Linked DNA regions of Homo sapiens: regions 1, 3, 4, 5 and 6 are each linked to region 2. Evidence: promoter capture Hi-C in 16 types of primary human blood cells and fetal thymus (Javierre and others, 2016). All regions are on one chromosome and are shown on one strand. Each heading gives the region's core, a stretch centred on a gene start or on the middle of the fragment in contact. The rest is flanking DNA. Distances are from core to core; before and after follow the strand shown.

What was found. Contacts are between HindIII fragments. The CHiCAGO score rates a contact against its expected background, and 5 or more counts as called.
Region 1: a contact is called between a fragment that was not itself captured here and the fragment with the promoter of KRT85 in region 2, in 13 of 17 cell types (M1 macrophages, M2 macrophages, M0 macrophages and 10 more). The highest score is 18.2, in M1 macrophages.
Region 3: a fragment that was not itself captured here is called in contact with the fragment with the promoter of KRT85 in region 2 in 2 of 17 cell types (M1 macrophages and erythroblasts); the score reaches 5.2 in M1 macrophages.
Region 4: a contact is called between the fragment with the promoter of KRT18 here and the fragment with the promoter of KRT85 in region 2, in 6 of 17 cell types (M0 macrophages, M2 macrophages, M1 macrophages and 3 more). The highest score is 13.6, in M0 macrophages.
Region 5: a fragment that was not itself captured here is called in contact with the fragment with the promoter of KRT85 in region 2 in 1 of 17 cell types (M0 macrophages); the score reaches 8.4 in M0 macrophages.
Region 6: a contact is called between a fragment that was not itself captured here and the fragment with the promoter of KRT85 in region 2, in 7 of 17 cell types (M1 macrophages, M0 macrophages, M2 macrophages and 4 more). The highest score is 14.1, in M1 macrophages.

Annotation. Positions count from the first base shown.
Region 1 is chr12:52,889,681-52,893,843 of GRCh38, reverse strand. No RefSeq gene overlaps it. Among named protein-coding and RNA genes, the nearest start is that of MIR9898, 7.2 kb to the left of the region's middle. The HindIII fragment of the contact is 2,470 bases long and covers 846-3,315 here.
Region 2 is chr12:52,365,594-52,370,145 of GRCh38, reverse strand. It overlaps KRT85 (keratin 85), which reads left to right and starts at 2,665. Exons shown (of 9, transcript NM_002283.4): 1 at 2,665-3,160. The coding sequence starts at 2,741. RefSeq lists an enhancer at 1-113. The HindIII fragment of the contact is 4,446 bases long and covers 217-4,552 here.
Region 3 is chr12:52,923,721-52,927,695 of GRCh38, reverse strand. It overlaps a transcript of KRT8 not described here. Among named protein-coding and RNA genes, the nearest start is that of KRT8, 21 kb to the right of the region's middle. The HindIII fragment of the contact is 7,195 bases long and covers 1-3,975 here.
Region 4 is chr12:52,946,416-52,950,748 of GRCh38, reverse strand. It overlaps KRT18 (keratin 18), which reads right to left and starts at 1,631. Exons shown (of 7, transcript NM_000224.3): 1 at 1,159-1,631; 2 at 339-421. The coding sequence starts at 1,575. It also overlaps a transcript of KRT8 not described here. RefSeq lists silencers at 588-602, 706-724, 948-971, 1,633-1,682, 1,723-1,802 and 3 more, enhancers at 759-858, 460-1,114, 26-1,225, 1,049-1,642, 1,643-2,236 and 1 more, promoters at 1,602-1,663, 1,873-1,955, 2,033-2,043, 1,964-2,043 and a cis regulatory region at 1,873-1,955. The HindIII fragment of the contact is 10,122 bases long and covers 1-4,169 here.
Region 5 is chr12:52,906,778-52,911,079 of GRCh38, reverse strand. It overlaps a transcript of KRT8 not described here. Among named protein-coding and RNA genes, the nearest start is that of KRT8, 3.9 kb to the right of the region's middle. The HindIII fragment of the contact is 1,829 bases long and covers 1,985-3,813 here.
Region 6 is chr12:52,966,645-52,970,726 of GRCh38, reverse strand. No RefSeq gene overlaps it. Among named protein-coding and RNA genes, the nearest start is that of KRT18, 20 kb to the right of the region's middle. The HindIII fragment of the contact is 7,174 bases long and covers 1-4,082 here.

The DNA.
Region 1 (4,163 bases), core at 831-3,330, 520 kb before region 2:
CTGGTCTTGAACTCCCGACCTCAAGTGATCCATCTGCCTCAGCCTCTCAAAGTGCTGGGATTACAGGTGTGAGCCACTGCACCCAGCCAACAATTTTTTTTGAATAGGTAACAAATACATTTTATATATAATTCTTTTTTTTTTTTTTTTTTGAGACGGAGTCTTCGCTCTGTCACCCAGGCTGGAGTGCAGTGACATGATCTCGGCTCACTGCCAGCTCCAGCTCCACCTCCTGGGTTCACGCCATTCTCCTGCCTCAGCCTCCCGAGTAGCTGGGACTACAGGCATCTGCCACCACACTTGGCTAATTTTTTTTATTTTTTAGTAGAGACGGGGTTTCACCATGTTAGCCAGGAGGCCTCGGCCTCCCAAAGTGCTGGGATTACAGGTGTGAGCCACCACATCCGGCCTTTATACATAATTCAAAAGTACAAGAGGACCCTTCCCCAGTCAGCCAGTTTCTGTTCCAGAGGGCAATTAATGCTACCAGTTTCCTGTGATTCATTCCAAGTAGAAGTTATTATATATAGTTACATAGGGACATACATGCATACATTTCTATCTATCCTTCATGAAGGGTATTGTACTATATGTGTTGTCACATGCCTTGCTTTAACATTCACCCAATACCTGTTCCTTCCATATCAGTATACAAGTTGCTTCTCCACTCTTTTTCACAGCTGCATAATATTCCACTTTGGGATGTGCCACAATTTACTTAACCAGTCCTCTATTGGTATTTGCTATGACAATGGTGAGGATATCTTAATAATTCCTACAAGTGGAATTGCTGAAGCAAAATGTGTGCACATTTAAATTTTAGTAGACTTTTTGTTTTTAAAGCTTGATTTCCTATGGGACTGAATTTTAGTTTTTTAGAAAATTTACATGTGTAGAAGAAGGTTCCTGTTTGACTATTCCAGATGAGCCAGCCATTATCCCCCACTTCCCTCCACCCTGCCTTTCCCGACCCAACCACCCAGGATTAAAATGATGAGTCTTCCAAGCATTTGTGGACTCTTCTGAAGATATTTTAATTCCAAGGTTTTGCTCTGCCTGCCCGCTGATCTGGGCTAAGGTGGTCTAGGAGCTCCCCTGTAGTAGGGGGATCTGAAGGTGGGCTAAGGACCGAGGGCCAGGCTGACTGGAGTGTAAGGTGGTGGGAATGGAGGAGTGAATGTTAAAGCAAGGCATGTGACAATGCGGACAGTACATACCCTTCATGAAGGATAGATAGAAATGTGTGCATGCATGTCCCTACGTAATTATATATCATAGATTCTACCTGTTGGGAAAGGAAGAGGAAGCACCACTGCAAGGAAAGGAAGGCAGGGAAGGATACCAGCATGGTGGGTGGCCCCCTAGTTCACTCTCCGCGCTGCCCTTTTACACATTGTGGTGGGCATAGTTGCTTTGTCTAGCCAGGACCCCTTCCCCCTTCTTCTAGTAATGCAAAGCTCCCCCACCTCCACTCCTGCCACGCCCCACTTCTTTTCAGGAACTGTTCCTCCTAAGATCACAGGACCTCTGTCCAGGCACACAGGGTTCACAATGGGCCAGCCTTGGCCAATCACAAGTCCCTTTGTTTCCTCCTTGCTGAGGCATATTGTACATACAATAAAATGCAAAATGTGCTTTAATGGGGAATGTACAACCTGATGAGTTTTTTTATTTTTATTTTTATTTATTTTTTTTGAGATGGAGTTTCACTCTTGTTGCCCAGGCTGAAGTGCAATGGCACGATCTCGGCTCACTGCAACCTCCGCTGCCCAGGTTCAAGCGATTCTCCCGCCTCAGCCTCCTGAGTAGCTGGGACTACAGGCATGCGCCACCACGCCGGGCTAATTTTGTATTTTTAGTAGAGACGGGGTTTCTCCGTGTTGGTCAGGCAACTCCCGACCTCAGGTGATCCACCCGCCTCAGCCTCCCAAAGTGCTGGGATTACAGGCGTGAGCCACCGTGCCCGGCGCCTGATGAGTTTTAACTTATGTTCACACCTGTAATGTAGAACATTTCCTATATCACAGAAGGTTCACTTGGGCCCCTTGCCAGAGTGCACTTTTTTTTAGTAGACTTATTTTTTAAGAACAGTTTTAGCTAGGCGCTGTGGCTCATGCCTGTAATCCCAGCACTTTGGGAGGCTGAGGCGGGTGGATCACGAGGTCAGGAGATCGAGACCATCCTGGCTAACATGGTGAAACCCCGTCTCTACTAAAAAATACAAAAAAATTATCTGGGTGTGGTGGCAGGCGCCTGTAGTCCCAGCTACTCGAGAGGCTGAGGCAGGAGAATGGTGTGAACCCAGGAGGCAGAGCTTGCAGTGAACTGAGATCATGCCACTGCACTCCAGCCTGGGCGACAGAGAAAGACTCCGTCTCAAAAAAAAAAAAAAAAAAAAAAAAGAAAAAAAGAGCAATTTTAGGTTCATAGCAAAATCGAGCAGGAGGTAGAGGGTTCTCATACACATTCTGCCCCTACACCTGCATCCCACACCAGAGGGCTACATTTGTTACAACATCATCAACATCCCACCTCAGAGGGATACATTTGTTACGATTGATGAACCTACATTGACACATCATTATTACCCACAGTCCATAGTTCACATTAGAGTTAACTCTTAGTGTGGACATTCTGTGGGGGCCATGTAGCCACCATTACAGTACCATACAGAATAGTTCACTGCCCCCAAAATCAGAGTGCATTCTCAAAAATATGAATCAGATTCAGTTACTTCCTTATATGGAAAACCCTTTATTTTTATTTTATTTTTTTCTTTTCTTTCTTTATTTTTTATTATACTTTAAGTTCTAGGGTACATGTGCACAACATGCAGGTTTGTTACATATGTATACATGTGCCATGTTGGTGTGCTGCACCCGTTAACTCGTTAACTCTTCATTTACATTAGGTATATCTCCTAATGCTATCCCTCCCCTCTACCCCCACCCCACGACAGGCCCTGGTGTGTGATGTTCCCCACCCTGTGTCTAAGTGTTCTCATTGTTCAATTCCCACCTATGAGTGAGAACATGCGGTGTTTGGTTTTCTGCCCTTGCAATAGTTTGCTCAGAATGATGGGAAAACCCTTTACTTTTGACACCCAGAATAAAGCCCTAAATCTTGACTTGGCCCACAGGCTGTGCCTACTCTTCCTCCTCTGAGGCCTCATCCTGGCCACTCTGTCCCTTGCTCTCTGATGCAGTGGTGCAGGCTTTTCAGGGCATAGCCTACATGGAATTTGCTTCTGCTCAGGGCATTGCATGGCTGGCCCCCTGCTTGGAACACCCTGCCTTTCCTAGTCACTCCCAAGCTTTCCGCTCAAACGCAGCTTCCCCAAGAAAGTCTTCTGACACCACAAGACAAGACAAAAAGTTTTATGACACCACAAGACAAGAAAGTCTTCTAGACACCACAAACTGAGTGGCGTGTTTCTATGATAAGTTCCCAAGGCACCCTGTATTTTCTCCTTGTAAATTACAGTCACTCATTCATCTGCAGAGGTATTTTATTAATATCAGCCTTTCCCCATACACTGTAAGCTCCATGAGGGCAGGGACACACCATATCTGCTTGGTTCTCCACTGATTCTTCAGTGTTTAGCAGAGTGCCAGGCACATAGTAGGTGGTCAATAAAAATTATCAAATAAAAAGGAATGAACCATTTCCATATTGATAGCCATCTTTTTTATTTTTTTGAGACAAAGTCTCTCTCTGTCGCCCAAGCTGGAGTGCAATGGCATGATCTCGGCTCACTGCAACCTTCACCTCCTGGGTTCAAGCGATTCTCCTGCCTCAGCCTCCTGAGCAGCTGGGGCTACAGGCACATGCCACCATGCCTGGCTAAGTTTTGTATTTTTAGTAGAGACGGGGTTTCATTATTTTGGCCAGGCTGGTCTTGAACTCCTGACCTCATGATCAACTCACCTTGGCCTCCCAAAGTGTTGAGAGTACAGGAGTGAGCTACCGAGCCTGGCCCAAACAATTTGGGAGTTTGATAAGTTTTTTTTTTTTTTTTTTGAGACAGTCTCACTTTGTTGCCAGGCTGGAGTGCAGTGGCATGATCTCGGCTCACTGCAACCTCTGCCTCCTGGGTTCAAGTGATTGTTTGGCCTCAGCCTCCTGAGTAGCTGAGACTACAGGCATGTGCCGCCACAACCAGC
Region 2 (4,552 bases), core at 1,416-3,915:
GCCCAGGTCTTTCCAGGGCAGCTGTGCCAGATCCACCTGGCCTGACTTGCTCCCTGGCCCTGGACCACCTGGGGCCAGCCCCGTAAGGAATCTGCTCCCCTCAAGGCTTTGCCCTCAGTCCAGCTCCTCCAATCCGAAGCTCCACCTGGACAGCATCCTGGGAAGCCCCCAGCCCCAGCCCTGGGCTCAGCACTGCCATCAGCAGTGATGCAAGCTTCACCCAGCACGCACGAGCACATTCCTGTGGGCAGGGTGGGCCTGTCTCACCCCCGCACACCCTCGAAGGGGCTCATACCCTTGGGCTGGACAGACCTGCTGGTCCTGTAGAGGTATCTTAGCTCTGGAAACAGTGGAATACCCCCAGACTCCTGAATCCCCTGGCCCCACCTTCCCTTCCCATTTAGGGTGGAGGGTTGGATGGGGTGTGTGTTGGGTGCAAGGGAAAGCAGCTGAAACAGGAGCCTCCCTCCAGGACAAAACCTCCTGCCCCCAAGAAGGAAGAGAAATGTCTCTGGTCCCATCATCTTTAAGAACCTGGAGGAGGGCAGAGGCTTACGGGAGTTGTGGAGAGAGGCAGGTGTTTCTGGGCTTTCAGTCCCCTCTACCTGCCACGTTCGGACCCCACCCTTCTCCAGGAATCCCTCTTGGCCCATACCACACCAGCTCCAGGTCTACATGGCAGTCAGTCAGTGAACTCACTGTCCAAACATCCCTGTATCCCAGCAATAGGCCCCACACTGAGCTCCCCCATACAGCCTCCTCTCTCTGTCCCCAGACTCCACCCAAAATTGCTATACAAGTGAAATCAGACTAAAAAAAAAAACATTAAAAGCAGTCTTGAAAGGGTGAAGGAGTCATAAATGTGCAGAGGAGGTGAAGGCTGTGGCAGGGCAAGGAACAGCCCTTTCTGCTGGGTGAGGCAGGTGGGAATGTTTCTCGTGGAAAGCAACAGTCCCTTTCCTTTACACAGAGCTTTCCCTCACATATCATCCTCTTCACCCTCCCAACAGCCCGGGAAGGTAAGGATGAATCCACATTACAGTTAAGGAAACAGAGGCTCAGAGAGTTTAAGAACTTCCTCCAAAACCATACAGCTAGGAAGGATCCAAACTGGCCCTTGAACCAGGTCTTCCAGCTTTGATTCCATTGCCCGGGTTGCCAAACGCAGTTGCTTTTCCATGGATGATTATGATCTGCATATGTTCTAGGGTCAGCTGGTGAGACCACCTGCTCTTCCCCCACCAGCTGCCAAGGTCTCTCTACCCTGCCCTGAAGAACAATGTGGAATGTGGAGGTGAGGTGGGAATCGATCAGCCTGATCCTGGGTGAAGGTCCTGGGTGAGGTCAGCTGGCTGTGGAGATTAGAGCAGATGCAGGACAGAGTACAGGGCATTTCGTGAAGGACTTATGAGAACAGCAGCATGATGGCAGTGTTTGGTTATGGAAGGCTTCCTGGAGGAGGAGTCACCCTCTGAGGAAGCTCATCGGCTCTTCTTCCTTAAGTTCCTAACACTTGGGTGTCTGGCTAACCTTCCTGGGGGCAGACCCACATCCCCAAGGTTTGTACTCCATAAACATTAAAAGAATAGCACTTGTTATCCTAATAAGTGTCCCAAGGACACACAGGGAAGCAGAAACTAGAAGGATGGGGCTCCCAGAACCCCCAGGAGCCAGAAGTCATAGCCACCTTAGACAAGAATAAACCACTATCCCACTTCCAGCTTTGTGCAATGCAGTCTCTAAACACTCCTCTAGGGATGACAATTCAAGGGCTGGCCAACAGAAGGAATACCTCTTGTAGCTGGTGGTCTGGGAAGGGAGACTCACATGACCTGTTTCTTCTTAAAGAGCAAAGCAAAGGTGCCCACAGCAAATTTATAGCCCCCAGGTTATCCCAAGGTTGAGTTCTCCAATCCTTTTGACCGAATGGAAGAAAGTGGCTAGAGGGAGTCTCCCCATAATCCGCAAGTAGCCATTATTGTGGCCACTGAGAGTTCTGTGGTTTGCACTTTTGCTGGGTGAGAAGTGAAAGCTCTGGACCAGCGCCTTCTGGGCTGGAATCCAGAAGGTTCCAAGAGATCATCTGCCCCAGCCTTTTATCCTGGCACGGGCATGGTCAAAATGACCGCTCTGGTCCTGAACCACCTTCCAAGCAATGCTGCCTAGATGGGGTGGGATTCGCCTGACCTATTGGCCCCTGAAATGCAATGATTTACTTGAGAATGTGTCCTCTGTGGAACCAGATAGATGAATGCAATGATCCCCCAAGTCTCACCTAACCCAGGACCCTCCAACCTCTCCCTTGAGACAATGGCTCCTGCCTGTATCCCAAACCCAGCCACCCCCAGGCTGTTGTGGAGTTCAAATCCGTCTCCAAGTGTGGGTTGAGGCCATCTCACAGAAAGACTGTGAGAAAATTAATTACTTAATGTATGTAAACGAGCTTTGAAGATGAAAAGTTCAAATGCAGTCTCCTTAATAACATCTTCAAGACTTCAGGGAGCCCCAGAGTCGCTGCTGAGCTCACCTTTAAGATGAGTCCGTGGGGAGTTGCTGGCAAACTCCCCAAGCCCATAAACAACATAAAATGGCTTTCCACTCCTTTTATGCAGCCAACCCCAGCTCTCCCCACCAATAAAAGGACCAGGGAGGATCAGAGAGAGCAGAAGGATCCTGAGCCTCGCACTCTGCCGCCCGCACCACCTTCCGCTGCCTCTCAGACTCTGCTCAGCCTCACACGATGTCGTGCCGCTCCTACAGGATCAGCTCAGGATGCGGGGTCACCAGGAACTTCAGCTCCTGCTCAGCTGTGGCCCCCAAAACTGGCAACCGCTGCTGCATCAGCGCCGCCCCCTACCGAGGGGTGTCCTGCTACCGAGGGCTGACGGGCTTCGGCAGCCGCAGCCTCTGCAACCTGGGCTCCTGCGGGCCCCGGATAGCTGTAGGTGGCTTCCGAGCCGGCTCCTGCGGACGCAGCTTCGGCTACCGCTCCGGGGGCGTGTGCGGACCCAGCCCCCCATGCATCACTACCGTGTCGGTCAACGAGAGCCTCCTCACGCCCCTCAACCTGGAGATCGACCCCAACGCACAGTGCGTGAAGCAGGAGGAGAAGGAGCAGATCAAGTCCCTCAACAGCAGGTTCGCGGCCTTCATCGACAAGGTGGGTGAGGCCTGAGACGGCCCAGAGAAGCCTCCAGCCCTGTCCTCCCTTGGGGAGGTCCCAGTCTGCTGAGGAGACAGGATGGCTGCCGGTTTGAGGCAGCAGAGGGAATGACGTGCAGACCCATACAGGTGGAAGGGTCAGTTTCCATCACTTAACTCCCGCAGCATTTAACGAGGTCCAGGTGTGGTCTAGAAATTGAGCCTGTGATCCAAAGTGTGTGCATGTGTGTGTGTGTACATGTGTGTGTGTGTAGCGGTGTGTGCGCCTGTACGTATGTTAGTGTGTGGTGTGTATATGTGTGTGTGTACATGTGTGTGAGCATATGTGTGTGTATGCATGTGAGTGTGTACATGTGTGTGAGCGTGTGTGTGTTTCTTGAGCCAAGACGACATAGGACTATCAGAACTGTGTCTGAAAAACCAGACTGGGCAGCAGGTGCTGGAAGAGTGGGAGATAACGGGGAGACCAAAAGACCTTGTGGCTCCTAGCCAGGCAGCCCGTGAAGGGGCTGGGGTAATGCCCACAGCCATGCTGCCTCTCCCAAGTCCTTGCTGCATCACTCAGCAGTGTGAGACCCCAGGCAGGTTACTCTGCTGAATAACAGGACTGCCTCATCCACCTGTGAGGAATTAATGAGTCCATGCATGAAACATGATGGCAAATAGTCAGCACTCAATACATGTTAGCTGCTACTATCATTATTTTCCAAGGACAGTGGTAGGTGAGGAGGTGTGACAGCCAACCCAGGCCTGGCAGCCCCTTCATGAGAGAGGGCTGAAATGCAGACAGGGAGGTGGCCAGGCTGGTAGGAGGAGGCCCCCTAATGCAGCCAGAGTGTGGAGAACGCTGCATAGCTGTGAGGCTGCCTCCCAAGAAAGTTTTGTCGGGGGAGGCTGGGAGCCTCCTTCACAGGCTCCTCCTGTGTCCACAGGCCTCTAGCAGAGCAGAAGGAGCAGCTTTGGGGGCCTAGGATCAGGGTTTGGGGGCAGAGGCAGTCACCTTCACGTTTTCACTCTTTCTTTAGTGATCTGAGTCCATCCTCACAGTGACGGGTTGGAGTGGGTATCAGCGTCTCCACTTATCAGACAGCAACTTGGAGCTAAGGGGGTGTATACGAGCATCTCAGACATGCTGTAGGGGGAGGCAGAGCATGCCTATCTCAAGACTATCGCTTACCATGAGCTGGGCATTTCACACCTTGGGGGTCTCAATTTCCCCATGTGCAACATGGGGTAAGTAATATCTACATCCCACAGGGCTGTGATAATTGAATGGAATGCATAGTTAGATGATATAGACATAGACACAGACATTAGACATGGATGTGTATATCTTACCACAGGCCTTGGCACTAAGTAGTAAATATTTAATAAGTGTTTGTTGCATAAA
Region 3 (3,975 bases), core at 1,057-3,556, 560 kb before region 2:
GGCTTCCCCCTCAGGACTGCCCATCCCCAGATTTCAGGCTCGGCTCTGCCCACAAGGGGGTGCTCAGTCAGAGAAGGCCTGGCTGGCATGGTGTGGACAGTGGCCCAGTTGGCAGGCAGGCAGCAGGGCCCTCGCGACTCCACCCCTGGCCAGGACCTTTGCTCCCAGCCCTGATGGCTCTGGCCTTGTTGCCATGGCCACCCCTTAGTTTGGGACAAACAGAGCTCTTCCTCCTCCTGTTCAGCCTCCTAACACCCAAGTGTCTCCCTAGGGACAGGCAGGAATTCCAAGTGTCCAGGCTCCCCACCCTTTCCCCAGGGGAGGCCCAAGGGTGGTGAGTCACTGAATCTGGGCCCCTCTTCACCCTCTCACTGTTCTCTGGCTTGTCCTGCTGCTCCCTTGGGCCCACCTATTTCCTGCTGGAGTTGGGGAGGGGTGGAGAGAAGGACTGGAACTCTCCTGGGTCTATCAAACTGAGTGGTGGTGAAGGTGAAGGGGTCTTCCTGTCCTGAATCTCCTCCCTGGGGTGTGTCCAGGCTGTGGACACCCTTCTGAGGCTTAGCTCCCATCTCTGGTATCCATGAAACAATCACAGCTTCTTTCCTCCCTTGGGGGGAATCCTTGGGGTCCAGGGTAAGGGACAGAAGATAGGAAAAAAGCAATGTGGGAGAGAGGAGATAGGGTCAGAGTAGAGAAGAGGACTCATGGGATAGAATTGAATCATTCATTCATTCATTCATTCATTCATTCATTCATTCAGTGAATCAAACAAGTTCCTGTGCTGGGTGTGGAGGGAAGCAGAAACATGTATAAGACACGCCCCTACTTTTGAGGAAGATGCCTTGGCGCTGATGTGCGGGCCCTGGACTTAGGGTACAGGACTCCGGTTTGAGCTCTGACTACTACTTGCTGGGCACATTACTTCTTAGAGCCTTGGATTCCTCATCTGTAAATAAGGATAAGAAGACTGAACTCCCAAGGTCCTTGTGAGGGTCAAATGAGACAAATATGGAAAATGCCTCATTAATAGTGGATGTTCAGTGCATGCTAAATGACTGTGGATCAGGTTTACAATCAGGGAGGGGAGCTCAGACATGCCCACAGCAAGTGTAACCCAGCCCAGGGGTGTAACAAAGCCCTATTCTTGGGGTCTCTATAGGAGTGGCCACTTCCGGCAGAGGTGACTGGGGCAGGCTTTGTGGGGAGGTGCCTGATGCATGATTTTCATTCAGCAAATGTTTGCGGAATGAATGGGGTGAGCTGGAGCCAGGACCTGCAGGAAGGGTAAGGTTTCAACAGGTGCAGGTGACAAGGAGGTGCTTCAGGAGAGGAGGGCACAGTCCTGGGGGTGGGGTGGGGAGGGCAGCTAGTGCCAGGTGGGGAAGGCTAAGCCTCAGCCACCAGATGAGGAATTTGACCTTTATTCTGAAGGCAACGGGAAGCTCTGGGCTAGGGAGTGACAGGATCAAAGCAGTGTTTGTAGAAGATCAGTCTGGCTGGGCACTGGAGAGGATACCTGAGCGAGCAGGAGAGGTGGTGGGGGGCGGGGGGCAGGGACACACCAGGCAGAGGGACAGTGTGTACATGTCTAGAAGTCTCAGGACAGGCAATTATGTCACCCCCTTCCACTCTGCAGAGGGGGCCTCTCGCACCAGCCTGTCTCCAGGGCAGGTCTCACCAGCCTGCTAGGAGGGAGCTTGAAAGGGAGGTGGGGAATTTCTCAGGGACACAGAGAACATGAGAACACTGCCTCCTTTCTCCTCCTTCCTCCCCTACCTGGGGCCCAGCTCAGAGTAATGGGCCCTGAGGGGGAGAGAAACGCAGCCCTGGAACTGGAACCTGGGTCCCTTTGTTGGTAGGCTCCACCTCCTGTCCTCTAAGATAGAGGGCTGGAAGAGACAAAGAAACTATTAGGCCCCATTAAGAACTGTGCATAAACCCTAGAACTCAGGAACAGAGGGATAATTGAGGTGATAGTATTGCCCAGCCCTGGAGCCCAACTTTCCTTGAAGGGGAAATTTCTGGCCTGGGGCTGGCTGGTAGGAATCTAAAGCCTTAGCCTTTGTGGAGATGAATCATCCTAATCTATCTCTTTGACCCCACCTCCGCCAAAGAGATCCCTTTTGCTCCAATCTCATTCCTGAATGTGCCACACTTCAGGTATCAATGGGGCAAGGCCAGGATGACGGAGGGGGATACCTGCAGGGGAAGAGGTGTTGAGCAGGTTTCTGAAAATGGTGACCATTTCAGACCCTAAATGGCGCCATTCATACCTAAGTGCTGAGTGGTCTCACAGTTTTAGGTATGCTTCGGGGCCCACAGTCTCTCCCAGCCTCCAGCCCTGACTCAGCCTGAGCCCCTGGGAGCCAGAGATAGCTATCCCAGCTATTCAGAGGAAGGAGATAAGGTTTATGGCTCTGGACAGGCTCACCCTGGGGAGACTGTGCATACACACCTCCTCCAGCTGCATTCCTCCCGGTCCTGACCTTGTCTTACTCAGTCTTTTCCTGGAATTACTACAGGAAATAGTGAGCTGTCTGAACGCACCATTTTCAGAAAACTGCCTAGCACCTCCTCCCCTGAAGGTATCCCCTCAATCATCCCGGCCTTGCCCCATTGAGGTCTATACAACATCTTTTTCTTGGCTTCTGGGCAGGCCTGATCCCATCTAGGACCAGTGAGAAGGGGGCCCAGCCCTGTTCCTTTTCCACAGACGCATCCTCCCCATTCCTGGTCACTCATTTCTGCTCCAATGACTCCTTGAATTAGTAAGTCCTTCCTTCAGTCTACCCTTTCACTCCCTTTCGGTGCTTAGTTAAGGAGAGGATGCTCCTCTGTGCGTTGGCTGTTGCCGCAGACCACAGAGTACAGCTGAGGGTCCACTTCACTCCAGGAGCCCTTTAGCTGAGGGGAGGAAGGCAAAAGACAGAAGGAACGGTGAATTCTTAGAGAAGAGTGCATGGTCTTTTCCCATCACAGTAGTGTCCTATACAGTAGTGTCCTATACAAGCAATTATCTTTACAAATTACAATTATCTTTACAATTATCTTTACAAACATTATCATCATATAATTTATTTTATTTTTAAATTTTTATTTATTTTTTTGAGACAGGGTCTGGCTCTGTCGCCCAAGCTGGAATGCAGTGGCCTGTCATAGTTCACTGCAGCCTCAATCTAATTTATTTTACATATGAGAGAACAAAAGCTGAGAGCCCAAATCAAGTATGATTTTTTTTTTTTTTTTTGAGACGGAGTCTCCCTCTGTCGCCCAGGCTGGAGTGCAGTGGCGCAATCTCAGCTCACTGCAAGCTCCGCCTCCCGGGTTCATGCCATTCTCCTGCCTCAGCCTCCCTAGTAGCTGGGACTACAGACGCCCGCCACCATGCCCGCCTAATTTTTTTGTATTTTTAGTAGAGACAGGGTTTCACCGTGTTAGCCAGGATGGTCTCGATTTCCTGACCTTGTGATCTGTCTGCCTCAGCCTCCCAAAGTGCCGGGATTACAGGCATGAGCCACTGCGCCTGGCCTAATGTATGATTTTAAGTATAATGCTTTTGGCCGGGTGTGGTGGGTGGCTCACAACTCGGCTCATGCTGAGGCAGGCGGATCACCTGAGGTCAGGAGTTTGAGGCCAGCCTGGCCAACATGGTAAAACCCCGTCTCTACTGAAAAAATACGAAAATTAGCCAGGCGTGGTGGCGGGCGCCTGTAATCCCAGCTACTCGGGAGGCTGAGGCAGGAGAATCGCTTGAACCCGGGAGGCGGAGGTTGCAGCGAGCAGTGATCATGCCACTGCACTCCAGCCTGGGCGAGAGCGAGGCTCCGTCTCGAAAAAAAAAATATATAATGCTTTTCTCACTACACTGCAAGCACTTTAGGCAATTCAAAGCTCTAAAATCCATATTAATTTAAATGTAATAATACAGGTAATTTTAATAATTTCAAAAATTAATAATTAGTAATAAAAATAATT
Region 4 (4,333 bases), core at 382-2,881, 580 kb before region 2:
TATAGGAGTGGAGGTGATCAGAGGGGCCCCTATCTCTGATCCAGAACCTTCTCAACTCATGCCACCTACTAAGAGAAGTTCTGTGCCCATTGCAAACCAGCAACTTGAGTCAGCAATTAGGTGGTAATCCCCTGAGCACCATTCTTGGCACTTGGAGGACAGTATTCTTAAACGGGGTTATACAAATGAACAGTTAAATGAATACACTGATGGACCCTGACTCTCATCCACCCACACCTAACAGGATCCCACTGTGAGCCCCTAACTGACCCAGCCTGGGGAGCAGATCCTTCTTAGCTCCACCCCTGGACCCCCAGCTCTCTAGCCCCCAAACTTACTTGACTCTAAAGTCATCAGCAGCAAGACGGGCATTGTCAATCTGCAGAACGATGCGGGCATTGTCCACAGTATTTGCGAAGATCTGGAGGGATTGTAGAGAGAGGTTGTTCCATGAATAGAAAGCCAGGGATGGGTGGGGTGAGTGTGTAAAAAGTGTTATGTATCCTAGTGAAAACTTCCTGGTCCCAGGAATAGCCAGAGGCTCTCCCTGGACACCTATCCCTTTTCATCTAGCCCCACCCCATTCCCTCCTTTCCTGGATTCCCAGATCCCAGCACTCTGCCCCTCTTGGGAAGCCTCAGCAGGCTGGCTAGCTGGCTGGCCTGCCTGCCCAGAAGTGAGTCGCTACTAACAAGTCCTCTTCCTGGCCCTCTCCTGGCATTTTTTCCCTAGTGCACCTGGTCACTCTGGGCCCCCTACACCCTGGATTGGCTCCTCCCAAAGGAAGGCCTCTTGTTTACTCCTAGATGACTCAGCCTTAGCCACATCCGCTTAACCCTCCAATAGTCCCCATTCCGCCAGAGCCAGTGTCTCCTCCTCTTTACAGGCCTTTCCTTACCTCCCTCCATGCTGTCCACTTCCTCTGTAAAGCTCTCAACCCTGTCCCCTTCCCCCTCTCTCCTGGGAAAGAGCCCTCCCATGCCTAGCTGCTGCTCTTAGGGACCCTGTGGCTAGGTGCGCGGATGGAAATCCAGGTATGCCCAACCCCCTCCCGGTGGAGTAGGGGTTGGGTGGTTATGGAATGACGGAAAGAGGCAAAGGAGTGTATAATTGGAGGGTCAGACAAGGCTGGGAGTTGAGGTCCCTCCTACCCCTTACCTGAGCCCTCAGGTCCTCGATGATCTTGAAGTAATGGCTCCAGTCTCTGACCTGGGGTCCCTTCTTCTCCAAGTGCTCCCGGATTTTGCTCTCCAGCCTCCGGTTCTCGGTCTCCAGGCTCCTCACTCTGTCCAGGTAAGAGGCCAGGCGGTCGTTCAGGCTTTGCATGGTCTCCTTCTCGTTCTGGATGCCTCCCATTCCTGCCAGACCCCCGGCTATCCCGGTGGCCAGGCCCCCGGACCCCATGCCGCCCCTGAAGCTGGTGGAGCGGGACACGGAGATCCGGGAACCAGAGCCCCCAGCGCCTGCATAGACGCTGGCCGCGCTGCTGACCGGCCGGGCGCCGTAGCTGGGCGCCTGGACAGAGCCCAGGGACCGGTAGTTGGTGGAGAAGGTGGAGCGAGTGGTGAAGCTCATGCTGTCCGGGGAGAGAGAAAGGACAGGACTCAGGCTTTGCGGACGACGGTGGCGGCCTGCGCGAGCCGCGCGACCCGAGTTATATCGCAGAGTGAGGCCCCGCCCCCGCCCCGGAGCCGCTTCGGAAGCCGGAGCCACAGGTGGACGGCTCGGAGCCCGCGCCCTCCGCCCCGGGCCGCTCCGCCCCGGGCCCCACCCCCGCGCCCTCCGCGCAGCCCTGCCAAGCCCCGCTCACCCCCCAGAAACGGGGTGGCCAACCGGGCATGGACACGGACAGCAGGTGTTGTTGGCCCTCGAGGCTGCTTTCAGGGCAGGAAATGACGTTATTATGCTCTTCTCCCCCAGGTGGAGGAGGTGCTGGCGAGTTTGAAATTTGGGAGTCTTGACCGGGCGCAGTGGCTCACGCCTGTAATCTCAGCACTTTGGGAGGCCTAGGTGGGCGGATCACGAGGTCAGGAGATCGAGACCATCCTAGCCAACATGGTGAAACCCCCTCTCTACTAAAATACAAAAAATTAGCCGGACGTGATGGTGCACGCCTGTAGTCTCAGCTACTTGGGAGGCTGAGGAAGGGGAATCGCTTGAACCTGGGAGGCGGAGGTTGCAGTGAGCCGAGATCGCGCCACTGCAGCCTGGCGACAGAGTGAGACTCTGTCTCAAAAAAAAAAAAAAAAAAAAAGAAAAAAGAAATTTGGGGGTCTGGTGGTGTGCGGGTGGAATGGCCTGTGAGTCCCTCTAGCTGTCCTTAACCTGCAGCCCAAATTATCCACTTGTGGAGGGGATCTTGGGGGCATCCTGGAGCCCCAGGAGTCCCGGGGAAGAAAGGCTGGGAGCTGGAGAAGAGGAGGAGAAGCAATGCCCAGCCTCATAGCTGCTTGCTTACACACTCACACCCCAGCTGCACCTGGCTCCCAAACACTCCTCGCCTGCCCACGTTTCCTCACACACACTCACACCCGAATCATACAGAGGTGTGCTCTCAAATGCACACACACATACATTCACTCAGCAAATAGGTGCAGACTCCCCAAAACAAACCCAGTCTCTGAGCCCCCTCCACCACCCTCCCCTCTCCCGACCTCACTCCCAAGGGCCTTGCCTCAGTGGAACACTGTGATTTGGACAGGGAATGCATCCTGACTTCTGCACACCGGTATATCACCTTTCCTGCATCCTTAATTAAACAAATCCTGAGCATTTACAATTCAACCAGTATGCATTCAGCACCTACTGTGAGCCAGGCCCAGTTCTAGGAGCTGGGAGAGAAGGGCGGTGACAAAAGAGACCAAAAATCTCTCACAGAGATGATAATGTGTCCCACATCGCCGGGCACAGTGGCTCATGCCTGTAATCCAAGCACTTTGGGAGGCCGAGGCGGGTGGATCACTTGAGGTCAAGAGTTCGATGCCACTGCACTCCAGCCTAGACAACAGAGCAAGACTCTGTCTCAAAAAAAAAAAAAAAAAAAAAAAATTTGAGACCAGCCTGACCAACATGGTGACACCCCTTCTCTACTAAAAATACAAAAATTAACCAGGCACAGTGTGTGCCTGTAATCCCAGCTACTCAGGAGGCTGAGGCAGGAGAATCGCTTGAACCCAGGAGGCAGAGGTTGCAGTGAGCCAAGATCGTGCCGTCGCGCTCCAGCCTGGGCAACCAGAGCGAAACTCTGACTCAAAATAAATAAATAAATAAATAAATAAAAGTAATGTGTCCTACATCGCATGGGGCCTGAGAGGACAGGCAGGCACTCCTAGGACCATCATAGCAGCGACCCAGCCCTGGTGGCCAGTGCCCCTCCCCTCTTTTCTAGGACTTTTCTCCAAGCCAGTCCTTCCCCTGTCCCCCCTTGTAAGGGCTGTCTGGATTAGAAGCCTGGCCCCAGGGGACTGCATCCTCCAAGATGCTCTCCCCAGCCTCTGTGTGAGAAGGATGGAGGTAGGGAGGCTTTCATGCTGCCTGCCCCCTGAAGCTGAATGACCATCCCTGCTGAATGAAGTGTTGGGGGGAACCCTTAGGTGTTTGGCCTTCAAGTTTGTCAGCTCCAGCAGCTCGTTTTTCTGGCAGGGCCTGGTATGACACATTTGGCTGTGTTCTTTGCTCTGGAGTGGACCTATTGATTCTTATCGAGCTACCAGCTGAGGGGGAAGGGGAGGACAAATAGTAGGGCAGACCTGGGAGAGAAGGGACCCTGGAAAAGCCTGGCCAGTGGACCTGCCAGGTGGGAGGCAGAGCACAGATAAAGAGCCTGAGCCTGGATTGTTCCTGATCTGTCACCTAATGGTGGGGAGAGCCCCACAGTGCTCAATGGGAGCCAGCCAGGGGGCAGTCAGGGTGGAAGCTGGCCAGGGGAGGGTCGGGGCCTGCTGAAGGCTGGGAGGCAAACGGGATGCAAAATAACATACAAATGAATGCCCACTGGTTTTGCATACAAGGCTTCTGGGAGGTAAGAGGTTCCAGTCAGAGGGGTCTCTCCTGCTTTCACCTTTATATTCCCCCACTGGATTCCAGAACTGTCAAGTTGGGCAGTATTTTATAATAAAGTATGTGGAGTCAACAAGCTACGTACTGCCTTTTACTGTTATTGCTAAGCTTTAAGTCAGCCAGCCTGGATACTTTGCTAGCTGTGTAACCTTGGGGAAGTCACCTAACTCTGAACTTCAATTTCTTCACTTGTACAGGGAAAACAGTAAGACCTGTCCAGTCTATTTCCTCAGGTGGCAGTGAATGTGAGTGTAAATTGTCACTCACTCATTCA
Region 5 (4,302 bases), core at 1,650-4,149, 540 kb before region 2:
ACGTCTGGCCTGATGGTCACTTCTCAACAGGGACTTTCAGGAAATACCTTGCCTTGGTCAAAGGAGACTCCTACCTCCTTTGGTTTGAGAGGACCCAAATACTTCATCTCCTGAAATTTTTTAGACTACTGCCTGATAAGCAAATATGTGGATAAATGAAAAGGTGAATACAGGAAGGAATAAAGGCCTCTAGTCCCTGTCCCCAACTCCCACCTTAGTCCTCAGGTTGCCCAGCAGGAAAATCAAAACAGTGGGCCTCTGGATATCAGCTCCAGTGCTAAGCAGCTCAGGCCAGGGGAATCCTCAGGGCTGGGGTGGGGGTGGGCAGGATGCCTATAGCGGAGCCCCAGGTCCTTCCTGTTTGTTCTTTTCCTGCACTCCTGTCCGGTTGCCTGAACACCATGAGGGCTTCCCCTATCGCAATGTCAGCTTCTGAAGTTTCCTTGAAATCCTCTCAATAACTTCCACTTCCTGTCACTCAAGTCCCCAGTACCGCTGTCTTCACTGTCAGGAGTGGGACCCATTTGTGTCTGTCCTCTCGCAGTCTCTGTCTCTGTCTCTGTGGCCCTGGCCAACGGTGGTGGAGTTTCAGGTTCTGGGGACTGAACCACTCTGTTTTCCTTCCTGAGGGACAGAGTATATCACCCTTTCTAAGCAGGAACCTGCAGTGCTGTGGATTTGAGCTCTGGCCTATTTCCTCTGGGAAGAGGAAGAAAGTGTGTTCCTAAAGGTCTTGGTGTTGGGACCAGAGCTAAAGCCTGGTGCCTGACTCTGGCTGTACCGAGGAAGCTTTGAAAATGCAGACGGGGTGCGACCTGAGCACGTATACTGTTATAATCTCCCACGGGCGATCTTGATGTGATGGAGAACCAGAGTTAAGGGGAAGGACTCTGTGGACTGAGCCATAGCTGGGACCTTCCGCCTAGGCTTCATGCTCACCCAGTGGGATGACCTTCTTGGTTTGGCATCAGTGGAGAGGAGGGTGAGAGAATGTTGAAAATGTGAGAAAGGCTGTGTGCAGTGGCTCACGCTGTAACCCTAGTACTTTGGGAGGCTGAGGCAGAAGGATTGCTTGCATCCAGGAGTTCGAGTCAGGCTGGGCAACATAGTGAGATCCTGTCTCTAAAAAAAAGAAAAAAAAGTGTGGGAGACCTCAACATCTTCAGGCTGCTGGGCTTGTGTCTCCTTCCTCCACAACAAGGCTGTGCTGTCCTCCCTCACTCTTGTTCTAATAATTTCTAATCATATCTCTTATCACAAGCAAAATTTCAAACCAGAGAACATTCACAGATTTTCATCTTCAGTGCGTAAAGCTCTATGGTGGTGGATGTGGATCAAAAGCTTTCAGAGTTGGCGGGACTTGGACATTCTAATTCAAACCCTAGCAGATGTGAGAACCCCCTCCCACTGAGCCAGTGGACAGCTGGTGAGCAAGGTCCCTCTCCATGTCTCCAGGTACAGGAGGTTGCTCCCTCTCTAGGCAGTCCATTTCCATCCTGGCTGGCTTTAATCATCAGATCCATCACTGATCAAGAGCAAAAAAGTCAGCATTTGCTAAGCTTTGACAATGAAAAATTTTAGCCTTGAGGCACATAACACAAAATTAGCAATCGAATTGACTCTATTATTCATGATGCTGCTTCCTGAGGGGTGTACCCACCACCTGTGGCTTCCTATTTAAACAAATTGTTCTGCTGTCTCTATGCTAAATGCAGCTATTTCTATACCAATAATAACATTTCAAAATGCTCCATCATTTAAAGGGATTTCGGGTGCTTTTCGGGCATTGCCTTAACCCAGAGGCAGGAAGCCTCTTTACCTGGGGCATCTAAACAAACTCTTTGCTTCTTTCCCCTGACCCCTTATGCTGGGCACAAAGCCCCTGCTTTTTATATGTAGCTCATTTATGCTTTTGTGGTTATCTTTTTGTTACAACTTTGTTGAGCTGTAATTCACATACAATATAATTCAACAATCTGAAGCTTGCAGTTCAGTGATTTTTAGTATGTTCACAGACTTGTGCAGCTTCACCATCATCAAATTTGTTTATTTATTTATTTATTTTTGAGACAGAGTTTCACTCTGTCTCCCACGCAGGCTAGAGTGCAGTGGCACAGTCTTGGCTCAATGCATGCGGCCTCAACTTTCGGGGCTCAGGTGATCCTCACAACTCAGCCTCCAGGGCAGCTGGGACTACAGGCGTGTGCCGCCATACCTGGCTAATTTTTGTATTTTTTGTAGAGACGGGGGTCTCATTATGTTGCTCAGCTGGTCTCAAACTCCTGGGCTAAAGTAATCCTCCTGCCTCGACCTCCCAAAGTGCTGGGATTATAGGTAGAGCCATTGTGCCTGCCCACCACCATCAAATTTAGAACATTCTCATCACCCCAGAAAGAAACCCTGTGCTCTTTAGCATTCATCTCCATTCCTCCCCTCCCTAGGCAACCACTAATCTACTTCCTGTCTCTATGCTTTGCCTGTTGTGCACATGTCATATAAATGGAATCATAGGGTACCTGATCTTCTATGACTGTCTCCTTTCACTGAGCATACGGGTTTCAAGGCTCATCTGCATCCAACATGCATCAGTAGTTCATTCCTTTTAATTGTAACATTAGATCGTATGGATATGCCACATTAAAGAAATCCATTCGTCATTTGGTGGACATTTGTTTTGTTCCCACTCTTTGGCTATTATGAACAAGGTTGCAGCGAATGAGATCATCAGTCCTGATCTCTAAGCAAAACTTGTTCAGATCCCGGGAGGCGGAGCTTGCAGTGAGCCGAGATTGCGCCACTGCACTCCAGTCTGGGTGACAGAGCGAGACTCCGTCTCAAAAAAGAAAAAAAAAAACTTGTTCAGACCATCTCTTCCCATGATCATGAGTGATGATAACAGCTACCTCCCCACCCCACTGGCCCCAAGACTTAATGCCACTGCTCAGGGTCTCAGGGCCTTCTCTGAATTATCCTGCACCATCAGAAGTAGGGGGCCTGGCCCTCACTCTTGGCCCACAGGGAGTGAGTGTCTCCTCCTTCCCTGGTTCACTCTCCAGGAAAGGCGGTTTGAGGCAGAGTTGTCTGGGTAGGGCAGGCACCGCAAACACGTTGTTCCCTTTTGTCCGGCAGGCAGCTGTGTGTAGACCACAATGCCTTACAAGGAGTTGTACCTGTGGGCCTGCTCCAGTCTGGTTCTCTCTTCCCTCACCACTTGGCCCTAGTCCCAGGGGCCTTCTCCTTCTGCCTTTAACCCTGAAGTCCCAGGCAGGGGCCATCAGAGAGGCCAACTCTGGCCTCTTCTCCTGCACCGAGGCTGTGCTTGGGGCATCTGGGGGAAGGTTTGGCTGGGGTCTCTGGGCAATAGAGAGATGACAAATGAGACACAAACACTTCTGGCCCTAGACGGTTCTGGGCTGCCCCAGAAAAAAAGGGCTTCCCCTGGCTGGGTAAGGTCTGGGTCAGCCCTCCAGCCTGCATACTGCAGGGTCCCTGGCAACCCCCTCTGTCCTCACCTTAAACAAGGGACACTCCTAGAACCAGGGAACCAGAAAGGTGGGGTGGAGGGGACTGGAATTTCAGGAAAGGCTTTGGGGTGCTGTTTTTTTGCTCCTTGTGCTGCCTAGATCAGGACCTGAGTGCCCCCTGCTCCCTCTAACAGCAGCGTGGGGGAGGGAAGATAGGGAGAGCGCCTGTCCTCCCTTTCCAGGGCTGCCATACCCGTCTGACCAGCCCCTCCCTCCCTCCTTCCGCCTTCCCTGTCCCAGGTTTGGCACTGGGCCCAGTCCTTCTCCCTTTGGTCTTCTGTTAAAAGCTTCTCAGCCCTGGTGGGTGCGGGTGTTTGTTGGGGAGGGGGTAGCATGCCTTCCAATCACTCTTGGGAAAATTAGGCATTGTTTAAAGGAGCTGGGAGAAGGCCTGGTGTAAATAGGTGCTAACTGAATTTCCCTTGCTCCATTCAGCATAGCAGGAGGCAGGGCCTGGGGAGGGGAGGGGAGGTGAAGGAGCCACTCACTGTGCCCGCTCTTGGGATCTATGCATTTTTCTGGAAGGGACTTCAATGTGTGGGGTGTGTGTGTGTGTGTGTGTGTATGCACGCGTGCATTGTGAAGAGAGCTTGTCTGTGTGTCTGTCTTTTTAAGTTTGTCTGTCCTCCAAGGAGGGGGCTTCTGGGTCTCTCTGTCCTTCTGGGTAGGGGTCCTATGTGCCTGTCTTTCTGTGAGCCTGGGTGTCTCTCCTAGAGAAGGATGGGGAAGAAACTGTACATCTGTCCTCCCAGTAGGTGGTCACCCCCTTCCCTGGGTC
Region 6 (4,082 bases), core at 916-3,415, 600 kb before region 2:
GTCCTGAGGTGCTCCTTGTGGCTGGGTCTGGTGCTAGACAGGGCTAAAGGCAGCACCAAAGTGGGCAGTAGGCCTTTGAGACCCCGACTGGACAGAGCCACACTCTTCAGGCAGGATGCTGTCTCCTTATCTAGGCTTGGGGTCTTGGGGCAGCCGGAGGGTTGGCATCCTTGATTATAGCCACAGGGATGAGACCTTTTTGTTTTGTGCTTTGGCTCAGCTCAGCCCCACTGCATGCCTGGCTGCTCCCACCAGCTCAAGATTATCTCTCTGGTGACGTGCTGCCTGGGGCTTGGCATGTACCCACCCCTGCGATCTTGCCCCTGCTGCAGCCAAGAGCAAAGTTTCAGTCTCTGGGACCCCAGCCAGACAACTCAAGGAGAGCCAATGAACTTGTATTTATGCAGTACCTACTAGCTGCCAGGCATGCAGCCAAGCCTTGGGGACTTTGTTCTCATTATTTTCTCACCTTTCCCACTGCACAAGTCTTAGCATCTCTCAGGTTTCACTTCTGCCACAAATCATGGCCATCATCCTCCCCGTGAACACCTGCAGCATTTACTGCCATGACATTCCTTGGCTTTGAATTAACCTCGTGACCTTTCTTGTATCTTTATGTTCTTAGGGCCGAACCTGAGGGTGGGGACCTGGGTCTAAGCTGTCCCACTGGTGGGCACCTTCCCTTCCTTTCCTGAACATTTTTGGAATGTAGGAGTGACCCCAGAGGAGGATTACAAAGCCCTTCTTCAAAGGAGAGGTTGAAAGTGGTGCCCGGGTTCTATAAACATTTGCACTGAGCATTCCTAAATGACAGGGAGATTTATAGTTTGAGTGCCTTCCCATTACGAAGACTGTTTAAGTGACTTGGGAAAGTTTCTTTAAAAAGAAAAAAAAATGGAGCAGATTAAGATGAGATTTTATTTTTCTTTTTTTCCTTAAAAAGAAAAAAAGGCTAGGCGAGGTGGCTCATGTCTGTAATCCAAAGGCTAGGTGAGGTGGCTCATGTCTGTAATCCCAGAACTTTGGGAGGCCGAGGTAGGTGGATCATTTGAGGTCAGGCGTTTGAGACCAGCTTGGCCAACGTGGTGAAATCCTTGTCTCTACTAAAAATACGAAAATTAGCTGGGCGTGGTGGTGCACACCTGTAATCCCAGCTACTGGAGAGGCTGAGGCGGGAGAATCGCTTGAATCTGGGAGGTGGAGGTTGCAGTGAGCTGAGAAGCCGAGACCACGCCACTACACTCCAGCCTGGGTGACAGAGTAAGACTCCGTCTCAAAAAAAAAAAAAAAAACAAATTCTTCCTGGGCTTTCTTAAAGCTGGGGTGTGTGTGAAGCGAAGCTGAGGAAGTTCAATTGTTCTCCCACTAAGTTCTCTTTCCTGGAACAAAGAGGACCTGCAAAGAGAGTGAGAGGACTGCTGGCATCTTGAAATATTCTTCTACTCTCCTTTGTCCTCTTTTCCTTGGGTGAGGCATGCAGAGACTCCTCTTGGTTTGTTATTTGCTCATTTATTTGTTCATTCATTTGCTTATTCATTCAAAAGCTAGTAAGAGAAGATTGTTAAATTTGAAAATTTTGCTTCCCAGAATTAAACCATTTTAAATCAACCATGACAGCAGTATTTATACCTTGGATATTGGCAAATGCTATAGGTTATTAAATAAAATAAAATAACATTTTATTTACAATTTAATAAAAATTACAATTTCAAATTTTTGTCTTTAAAAAAGAAAATAACAACCTGCTGTTTATGTGTTGGAATTGTGTTATGTATCAGGGCATAAGAGTGAACAAGATAGTCCAGTCTCTGCTCAAAGGGAGCTTACAGTCTGGTGCTGCACTGTCCTGTCCAATCTGGTAGCCATTAGCTACTAGCTACTGCTGTGGTTATTAATTTATTTTTTAAAGTTTTTAATTTTGGCTGAGTCTGGTGGCTCATGCCTGTAATCCCAGCGCTTTGGGAGGCCGAGGCAGGTGGATCACCTGAGGTTAGGAGTTCGAGACCAGTCTGGCCAACATGGCGAAACCCCGTCTCTACTCCAAATCCAAAAAAAAAAAAAAAAAAAAAAAATTAGCCAGGTGTGGTGGTGGGCGCCTGTAATCCCAACTACTCGGAAGACTGAGGCAGGAGAATCACTTGAACCTGGGAGGCGGAGGTTGCAGTGAGCCGAGATTGAGCCAGTGCACTCCAGCCTGGGCAACAAGAGTGAAACTCTGTCTCAAAAAAAAAAAAGTTTTTAATTTTTGTGGGTACCCAGTATGTGTATCTATTTTAGGGTACACGAGATATTTTGATACAGGCATACAATGCATAATAATCTCATCAGGGCATCCATCACTTCAAGCATTTATCCTTTATGTTACAAACAATCCAATTATACTCTTTTAGTTATTTTTAAATGTACAATAATTTATTTTTTTTGAGACGGAGTCTTGCTCCATTGCCCAGGCTGGAGTGCAATGGCATGATCTTGGCTCACTGCAACCTCTGCCTCTCGGGTTCAAGCAATTCCCCTGCCTCAGCCTCCCGAGTAGCTGGGATTACAGGCATGCACCACCATGCCTGGCTAATTTTTGTATTTTTAGTAGAGACGGGGTTTTACCATGTTGGTCAGGCACGTCTTGAACTCCTGTCCTTGTGATCTGCCCGCCTCAGCCTTCCAAAGTGCTGGGATTACAGGCATGAGCCACTGCACCCAGCCTTAGGCTGGTGCTTTTTAAACTTTTTTTGCTTCTGGGGAGTGGGTGATAGGGAAAGTTCTGCCAGCCTGGGAGGGGCCCACTAGAGCCTGCTGCTCCAGTGTGGATTGTGGGGAGAGGAAAAGGAACTGTGTGCTTTGGGCCCAGATCACTGGAGTGCCCTGAGTCTCTGAGAAGTTTACCCTACATCCCTCCTGTGGCAGCACCATCCACTTCACCAGGATCTGACCAGGGCCTTCAGGGGGACACAGCCTCCCCGGATCTGAGCATCACTATCATTCTAATTCCTTGGGCTGTTTCTGTGTAGATAATTATTTTCCAGCTCATTCAGGCAGGTGAGGTTGAGGCCAGCAGTGCAGCTAAATCCTTACACCGTGACTGGGGCTGCTTTTATACAGGTTAGGGGAAGAATAATCACTTATGGCTGAAATCTAATGGAAGAGGGAGTTCTGTGTAACTCTAGTGGGCAGAGCTGAGTTTAGAAGGTTAGTAGGAGGCAGATTTCAGCCCAGTAGAAGGAACAATAATGTTCCAGTAATTATACAATTATTATCCAACAGGGGCTATACTGTCATAAATTCTTCAAACGGAGGCCAGATGTTAGGAAGGCCACAAAGAGGATTCCTACTGGGAGAGGCCAAACTTGAACCATCTGTTTATTTATTTTATTTTATTTATTTATTTTTTTGAGAATGGAGTTTCACTCTTGTCACCCAGGCTGGAGTGCAATGGCACAAACTTGGCTCACTGCAACCTCCGCCTCCCGGGTTCAGGTGATTCTTTTGCCTCAGCCTCCCAAGTAGCTAGGATTACAGGCATGCACCACCACGCCTGGCTAATTTTGTATTTTTAGTAGAGACGGGGTTTCTCTATGTTGGTCAGGCTGGTCTCGAACTCTTGACCTCAGGTGATCCACCCACCTCGGCCTCCCAAAGTGCTGGGATCAGAGGTGTGAGCCACCACACCGAGCTGGTAAGTATATTTTTATTTTTATTACTATTTTTTTTGAGACAGAGTCTTGCTCTGTTGCCCAAGGCTGGAGTGCAATGGCAAGATTTCAGCTCACTGCAAACTCCGCCTCCCAGGTTCAAGCAATTCTTCTGCCTCAACCTCCCAAGTAGCTGGGAATACAGGCGCATGCCACCACGCCTGGCTATTTTTTTTTTTTTTTTGTATTTTTAGTAGAGACAGGGTTTCACCATATTGGCCAGGCTGGTCTTGAACTCGTGACCTCGTGATCCGCCCGCCTCAGCCTCCCAAAGTGTTGGGATTACAGGCGTGAGCCACCGCGCTGGGAGGTGTATTTTTAAACTTAGAAAAAACGGCCCAACTGTTTTCCAAAGTAGTTGTACACGTTTTGTATTCCCACCAGCAACATATG